2 separate regions of the Homo sapiens genome follow, and region 1 is linked to region 2. Evidence: promoter capture Hi-C in 16 types of primary human blood cells and fetal thymus (Javierre and others, 2016). All regions are on one chromosome and are shown on one strand. Each heading gives the region's core, a stretch centred on a gene start or on the middle of the fragment in contact. The rest is flanking DNA. Distances are from core to core; before and after follow the strand shown.

Region 1 (4,156 bases), core at 494-2,993, 120 kb before region 2:
GAGGGAGGTGCAGGAAGTTCCCTGGGGCCTCCCAGCCTAGGCCCCCCAGCAGTGGGAGTGGGGGCCTGCTGGTGAGGCCTGGCTTCCTGCTGGGCTCTGAACCCAAAAAGAAGCCAAAGGCAGACCCAGAGAGCAACTGCAAACAGTGATGAGATGGTTGATTTGGGTGACCTTGGACCCGGGATTCTGGACTGCTGGGTTACAGGGGAGTCACTTCCTCACTTCTCACCTTATAGGGTCACATGGAGCGTTTGCTCCCCAGCGATTTGGGGAAGGTAGAAGCGACTCCTTAGAGTATCTTGAAGTAGGGGCTTACAATCAGACAGACAGAGAAAAAGCTCCCCCTATTCCTCTTTCCCGCTGCCCCTCACTGAGATACGTGGATGAGACAGGGTGGCATTGCATGGGGTGGTGGAGAGTCCCAGGCGGGTCTTGCTGGAGGAGCTCCCCAAGGACTCCCTTTGCTGGAAGGCTCCAGTCCCCGTTCTGGTCCAATGCCAAGGAAGGGACAGAGGATGACGCTGCATGAGCTGATTAATCCCTGGGAAGACAACGGGCCCTGCCCTACCTGCCCATGTGCCAGTCTGGCACCAACTCGCCCAGCCTGTTCCAGCTGGCCTGGTAGAAACTGACGCAGCAGGTGACTCCCTCGGTTTTATGGGCTTGGGGCAAAAGTCGTGTGGCCAGCAGAGTGGCTGAGGCAGGTAGAGTTTTCCACAGCGGCCTGGGCTCTCCTTGTCCTAGAAGTCTAACAAGTCATCTTCTTGTTTACCCTGGTGCCTCCCTGGAACATAACCTGACACATCACGGGCACTTCCTGTGTGTGTTGAAATAATTGTCAAAGAATTGGTAAGGAGCAGATGTGAGCAGAACATGTGCCCTGCGCAAGAGAAGCCCGTGGTCCCCAGAAACTTACAATTCTTTTCTTTTTTAAATTTTTTCTTTTTGTTTTTAAGATAGGGTCTTGCTGTGTCACCCAGGCTGGAGTGCAGTGGTGTGATCGTGGCTCACTGCAGCCTCTACCACTGGGGCTCAAGGGATCCTCCCACCTCAGCCTCCTGAGTAGCTGGGACCACAGGCATGTGCCACCATGCCCAGCTAATTTTTAATATTACTGTTTTAAAATACATGTAATTGTATTGAGTCTATCTTCTCTAAGGACAAAGGTTTACTCAGCAACTATTAACTTCAGGGTAGAGCTTGTTCTCCACCTCTGCTCTTCACCCTACTCCCCAGCCCCGATCTCACCAGAAAGCAAACCTTAACAGGGTCTCTCACCTGAGGGGTATCCAGGAGCAATTTGGTCCACACCTCATCTTCGCAAAAAGCTTTTAACGTATACTTTGTTGTTGTTGAGACAGGATCTTGCTCTGTTGCCTAGGCTGGAGTGCAGTGGTTCAATCATGGCTCACTACAGCCTTGATCTCTTAGGCTCAAGTGATCACAATCCTCCTGCCTCAGCCTCCTGAGTAGCTGGGACTACAGGTGTGCGCAGCCATGCCGGCTAATTTTTTTTTTTTTTTTTTTTTTCTGTAGAGATGGGGCCTTGCTATGTTGCCCAGGGCAGTCTTGAACTCTTGGTCTCAAGTGATCTTCCCACCTCAGCCTCCCAAAGTGCTGGGATTACAGGCATGAGGCACCGAGGCATGAGACGGGCCTCAATGTACACTTTTGACGTTATTCGGTTTTGACTCTGATACTTAGCAAGGATGCCGGAGCCAGGCTACCTGAGTGTGAACCCTGCTTCTGTCACTTACTAGCTATGTGACCTTGGCCAAGGTCCTTATCTTCTCTGTTTCTGTCTCCTCATCCACAAAATGGGAATAAGGATAGATTAAGCCAATCACCAAAAGCAACCTATTGTATGATTTCATTTATATAAAATGTCAAGAATCAGCTGAATGCAGTGGCTCCTGCCTGTAATCCCAGCATTGTGGGAGACCAAGGAGGGAGGATCACTTGAGGCCAGGAGTTCAAGACCAGCCTGGGCAACATAGCACGACCCTGTCTCTACCAAAAATAAAAACAAAAAAGCCCAGAACAGGCAAATCCATAGAAGCAGGAAGTAGATTAGTGGTTACCAGGGGGAATGGATGGGGAATGACAACTAACGGGTAGAGTTTCTTTTGTGGGTGATAAAAATATTCTAAAATTAGATAAAGCTTAAAGAGTTATTACTTATAAAGTGCTTACAGCAGTGTCTGACACATCAAAAGTGATCTGCAAGTCATTGTCGAATAAAACTTACCTCGAAAGGAAGGCATGAATACTAATGAGCTTGGAAAAAAAATGTTCATAATACAATTTTAAAATGGTATTTCATTCCCGAATCTCACTATCTGCTGTGTACTTTTTATCAATCCTGCTGTAATTATTTTGTGCATAGCATCATTATATAGCTGTATAAATTATGTACATTAAAAGTGTTAATTTGTTAGACTTAAATGTGTTAGCACGTTTTTACCATATTGGGTGGTTTCCGCACCCCCTCCAAAAATGGGTGGTGGCTCAAGGCTCTGTTGGCAGCTGGTGAGCTGTCCCTGAGTTACACAGGTTTAGAGGCAACAACAGGTAAGGACTTTGCACAAAGGCATTTGGAAAGACAGCCAATTGTCCATCATGATATCTCATCATTGCCCAGTTTGGTAATTGATGTATCATTTGCATTAATGATATACCACACATCATTATGCAGATAAAGTCGGCTATCATCCAGAATGAGGCACACAGCCTTTGATTGGCAGAGAACTAGGGAGAGTCAAATGACTTTTAACCTACTTGGTCTCCTTATTTGCCTAATGCTGAATTAAAGTCACGCAACCATGACAGGGATTCAAGTCAAGCAAAGGTGATCGTAAAGACCCGCAGGAGGGTGTCCTATGGCGAGGCCACTGATGTGCCGGCTAGGGGTTAACAAGTGGCTCTTGGCTGGGTGCGGTGGCTCATTCCTGTAATCCCAGCACTTTGGGAGGCTGAGGTGGGAGGATCACTTGAGCCCAGGAGTTGGAGACCAGCCTGGGCAACACAGCAAAAACCCATCTCTACAAAAAAATGTAAAAAAAACTCAGCCAGACGTGGTGGTGCATGGCTGTAATACCAGCTACCTGGGAGGCTGAGGTGGAAGGATTACTTGAGCCTGGGGAGGTCGAGGCTGCAGTGAGCTATGGTCATGCCATTGCGTACTCCAAGCTAGGCGACAGAGCAAGACCCTGTCTCAAAAAAAATAAATAAATAGGCGGGGTGCTGTGGCTTATGCCTGTAATCCCAGCACTTTGGGAGGCTGAAGCGGGAGGATCATGAGGTCAGGAGATCGAGACCATTCTGGCTAACAGTGAAACCTCGTCTCTACTAAAAATACAAAAAATTAGCCAGGTGTGGTGGCAGGCACCTGTAGTCCCAGCTACTCGGGAGGCTGAGGCAGGAGAATGGCGTGAACCCGGGAGGCGGAGCTTGCAGTGAGTCGAGATTGTGCCACTGCACTTCAGCCTGGGTGACAGAGGGAGATTCCATCTCAAAAATAAATAAATTAATTAATTAAATAAAATAAATAAATAAATAATAGAAAAAAGAAGACAGGAAAAGACACCAGGTATGCATGTGGCCGGAGGAAAGACCATGTCAGAGAGAACGCAGCCATCTACAAGCCAAGGAGAAAGGCCCCAGGAGAAACCAACCTGGTCAACACCTTGATCTTGGACTTCCAGCCTCCAGAGCTGTGAGACAAGAAGTTTCTGTTGTGTAAGCCGCCCAGTCTACGGCATTTTTTTTGTGGCAGCCCATGTAAACTAATACACTCAGAGAGCAGTTTGCCCTTAGAATAGGCAGGGAGGGTTGCCCAGGGTTCTTGTGCTGGAGGTGCCCATGTATCAGAAGCACAAACAGAAGTGTATCAAAGAACACATGGGCCCCCTGTCATTTGGGCAGTGTGCACCCTGTAACTAAACATCCATGTATCCACTCTCTTTTTTTTAAAAAAGGTTTTTTTTTTTTTTTTTTTTTTTTTTAGGCTGGGCACAGTGGCTCAAGCCTGTAATCCCAGCACTTTGAGAGGCCAAGGAGGGCAGATCACAAGGTCACGAGTTCGAGACCTGCCAGACCAACATGGTGAAACCCCATCTCTATTAAAAATACAAAAATTAGCCAGGTGTGGTGGTGC
Region 2 (3,933 bases), core at 1,340-3,839:
GGTTTATCTAAGAAAAGTCTTGGTTTGTCTTGCTGCTGTAAAAGGCCTTTCCAAACCCCTCCTTTTATTCCTGTTTCCCGAAATAAGGTATTTGTAGAGTTAAGGACCTACTGCATGCCTGTCCCCAGGGCCCCGGTGGAAGGAAGGCAGCGCCTGCTCTTCCTTAACTCAGCCCATCATCTGAAAATTCAGAAGTGAACCAAGGGTTAGACGCCAGAGGTTGGGCTTCTGTTAGAGTGGCTTCAAAACATGAGCCTTATGGGAAGTAGCCTTAAAAAAAGAATGGGTATACGCAGTGACTTCCGATGGAAATCTCCAAAACAATATTCCTAAGTAGCAATGGGGTTGGCTCAAGTCTTTATTAACAAAGAACATTCTCTTTCATCTATAAAGAAATTCTTAAAGATGCATTGACAGTGTTGAATTACCAACAGCCTGTGAAGATCAGTTTGACCGGTGTGGACACGTGCTGGTTAAGCACTCAGGCCTACGTGGGCCGAGCGGGATCTTGATCATGGGGCTGGTGTATGGATCCACCGTCGGATTCCGTCTGCAGAGGAGGACGTAGGGGGCCGTCACACCCACCAGGCCTCCCTGCTGTGCTTTAACACAGGCAGAAGAGGTTCATGGCAATATAATAGTCAATGAACTTTCAGTTTAAATTGTGTACATTTTTAAATTGTAAGATTTTTACTGTATATTGATGCATAGTGTGATTCAATAAATTGCTTGTAATTTAAAAACTATTTAATATTCAAAATAAATATAGTTATATATTTATAAACTCTGTTGGCCGCGTTTCTTCTGTGTTTTGTCCACCGTGCAAGGGCCACCTGGGTGGGTGGCCTGGCCCTGCCCTGCTGTGAGCGCCCGCAGCCTGTGTTCCAGGCCCCTGCCCTGGTCCCTCTGGAGCTTGTGTGACAGACCTAAACTCCCCGCACTCCTGAGGACATAAAGCTTTGTATAACCACTGGAAAACCAAACCTGTTTAGTGTTCCTGCCACCTTGAAGCATGTCTATAAACCATGCCTTTGCACTCATGAATTTCGGAAGCATTTTCATTTCCAAGGACCTCATTTGGCCCAGCCTCAAATGAGCTTTAGGCCAAGAGAAGAACTAACTAACCTTGGCTCCAAGCTAGCCTTTCTGTGCCCGCCCCCCGCCCCACTATGGCCCCTCTGAGTTCCCACCCAGAGGTACTGAGACAGAGCGGCGAGACCCATGAGTGTGGAGCCCAGGCCTGCCAGCCAGCGTGACACTCACCGCACCCCCAGCAGCGTGCAGTCACCGCACCCCTAGCAGCCCCGAATAGTCCCTGAGCAAGATGCTGCTTTGGCTGGGCGTGGTGGCTCACGCATGTAATCCCAGCACTTTGGGATGCCGAGGCGGGTGGATCACTTGAGGTCAGGAGTTGAAGACCAGCCTGGCCAACGTGGAGAAACCCCGTCTCTACTAAAAATACAAAAATTAGCTGGGCGTGGTGGTGCATGCCTGTAATCCCAGCTACTCGGGAGGCTGAGGCAGGAGAATCGCTTGAACCCGGGAGGCGGAGGTTGCGGTGAGCCGAGATCATCTCGCTCCATTGCACGCCAGCCTGGGCAGCAAGAGCGAAACTCCGTCTCAAAAACAAACAAACAAACAAAACAGGCGTTCCCAAGGACTGCACACCTGCCCAAGGAGCCCCCCACCCCCACCCCAACTCGGGCTCCGCCCCCAGCCCGTAGGAGCCCCAGGTTCCCCTAAACATCCCGGGCGGCGGGGCGGGGGATCCCCTGGGAGATGCCCGCGTTTTCGCGGAGCGGCTCGTCCCGGAGTGCTCCTGGGACTTGGGATCTGTGTGCTGAGCCTGAATCGGGGCTGCCCCTCCTTCCGGCGGCTCCCAGAGACCTGTTTCCCATTGGCGGAATGGGCCCGGGCCCCGCCACGAGTGGAGAGGCCGGGCAAGGAGGATCGCGGGAGGCATGGATGCGGGGGTGCTGTGTCAGGGGGAGGGTCGGGGAAAGCGGGCGGGGGGAGGCTGTCTCGGGCACGGATATGGGGTAGGCGGGTGGGAAAGGCGCGAGTGGAAATTGAGGGGGAGGATGGGGAAAAGCAGGTTGTGGGGAGGCTGTCGGGGGACGGGAGTAGGGGAGGTGGGGACGCAGGCTGTCTTGGGGGGGCTGTAGCGGGAGAATGGGGAGAGACGAATGGGGGGAAGCTATCTCGGGGCGGTTGGGGGGCTGTCGGGGGAGGATGGGGAGAAGCGTGTGGGGGAGGCTGTCTGGGGGAACGAGGGTCGGGGGCTGTCGGGGGATGGTGGGGAGAGGCGGGCGGGGGTGGCTGTCTTGGGGGACGAGGGTGGGGGGCAGTAGGGGGAGGATGGGGAGAGGCGGGCGGGGGAGGTTTTCTATCTTGGGGGCGGGGCGGAAGCTGGGGGCGGGGCTGCGCGGCCACCTGGTCCGGGAGCCCCAGGCGCCGGCCTCCCGCCCGCCCGCCCGCAGGTGCCGCCACTGCTGCCCAGCGCCCGCCGGGACACCCGGACCCCGGCCCCGCCCCGGCCCCGCCCCGAGGGCTCATTTGCATGCGTCCGCGGCCCCTCCCGGGGCGGCTAAAGCGACGTGTCCTTGTCCCCCGTGGGCAGCCTCGGCGCGTGTGGCCGCGGATCCCCAGGTAACCCGGGAGCTGGGAACTCGGGTGGGGCCGCGGGGAGGGGACCCAGGGGCAGGACCTGGCGGTGGGGTTGTGGGGGTTGTGGGGGCTGTGGGGAAACCCGGGTGGGGGACTTCTGGTCTGTCTGGAGGCTCCACGGGGCCCATCCACGTGGTGGGATTGGGGGCTGCCGCCAGGCCCTGGCCATTGCCGACCTCTGACCTCCACGGCTGCCCCATGTCCGCAGCGGTTCTGGCCCCAGTGCTGTCCCATGTCCGCAGCGGTTCTGGCCCCAGTGCTGTCCCTGCACGTGTCACGTCCAGCGGGGCAGGACAGTGAGAGCCTGGTGGCTGGAGTCACTGCCCGCCCACGGGATGAAGTCAGTGCCGCCTCCGGCAGAGGCGCCCCCTAAGCTAGGGTGGGGGACGCATTCTAGGCAAAGTGTCAAAGGTCACCGAGCTCAGGAGGCACTCTGGGGGCAGTGAGGGGCATGAGCCAGAGGAAGATCTAGGGGTCAGGATGAGTCATCCTGGGGGAAGGGGGACGCAGGGACAGGGACAGATTCCAGAGGTCTGTTTGAGGTAAAGCAAGGGCGTGGGTGTGTGTGGGGTCAGCCCAGGGCTAAGCGTGTGAACAGAAGGACCTCCAGTCGCAGAGCGCCAACCCCTGCCCCTGGTACCATTGCTGTCAGCAAGGAGGAGGCTGCCAGGGACGGCACCCCAGCGGGTCCCCTGCCCATGTGGGGTGACCACAGAGTGTCCTGTGTTCTGGATTTCAGCTCCAAGGGCCTCACCTTCCTGCCGCCACCTCCTAGGACAGCCAGTCCAGGGCCATGAAGACCAAGAACCGGCCCCCACGGCGCCGGGCCCCGGTGCAGGACACAGAGGCCACCCCCGGGGAGGGGACGCCCGACGGGTCCCTGCCGAACCCGGGGCCAGAGCCGGCCAAGGGTCTGCGGAGCCGGCCGGCCCGGGCCGCAGCAAGGGCTCCGGGCGAGGGCAGGCGCAGGCGGCCAGGACCCTCCGGGCCCGGTGGCCGTCGTGACAGCAGCATCCAGCGGCGGCTGGAGAGCAACGAGAGGGAGCGGCAGCGGATGCACAAGCTAAATAACGCCTTCCAGGCCCTGCGTGAAGTCATCCCCCACGTGCGCGCGGACAAGAAGCTCTCCAAGATCGAGACGCTCACGCTGGCCAAGAACTACATCAAATCGCTGACGGCCACCATCCTGACCATGTCCAGCAGCCGCCTCCCAGGCCTGGAGGGGCCGGGCCCCAAGCTCTACCAGCACTACCAGCAGCAGCAGCA

Evidence for each region. Contacts are between HindIII fragments. The CHiCAGO score rates a contact against its expected background, and 5 or more counts as called.
Region 1: a fragment that was not itself captured here is called in contact with the fragment with the promoter of BHLHA15 in region 2 in 1 of 17 cell types (neutrophils); the score reaches 6.0 in neutrophils.

What each region holds. Positions count from the first base shown.
Region 1 is chr7:98,085,815-98,089,970 of GRCh38, forward strand. No RefSeq gene overlaps it. Among named protein-coding and RNA genes, the nearest start is that of LMTK2, 19 kb to the right of the region's middle. The HindIII fragment of the contact is 834 bases long and covers 1,327-2,160 here.
Region 2 is chr7:98,208,850-98,212,782 of GRCh38, forward strand. BHLHA15 (basic helix-loop-helix family member a15) reads left to right here and starts at 2,590. Exons shown (of 2, transcript NM_177455.4): 1 at 2,590-2,649; 2 at 3,407-3,933. The coding sequence starts at 3,461. It overlaps LMTK2 (lemur tyrosine kinase 2), which reads left to right. Exons shown (of 14, transcript NM_014916.4): 14 at 1-789. RefSeq lists a silencer at 2,462-2,651. The HindIII fragment of the contact is 21,052 bases long and covers 956-3,933 here.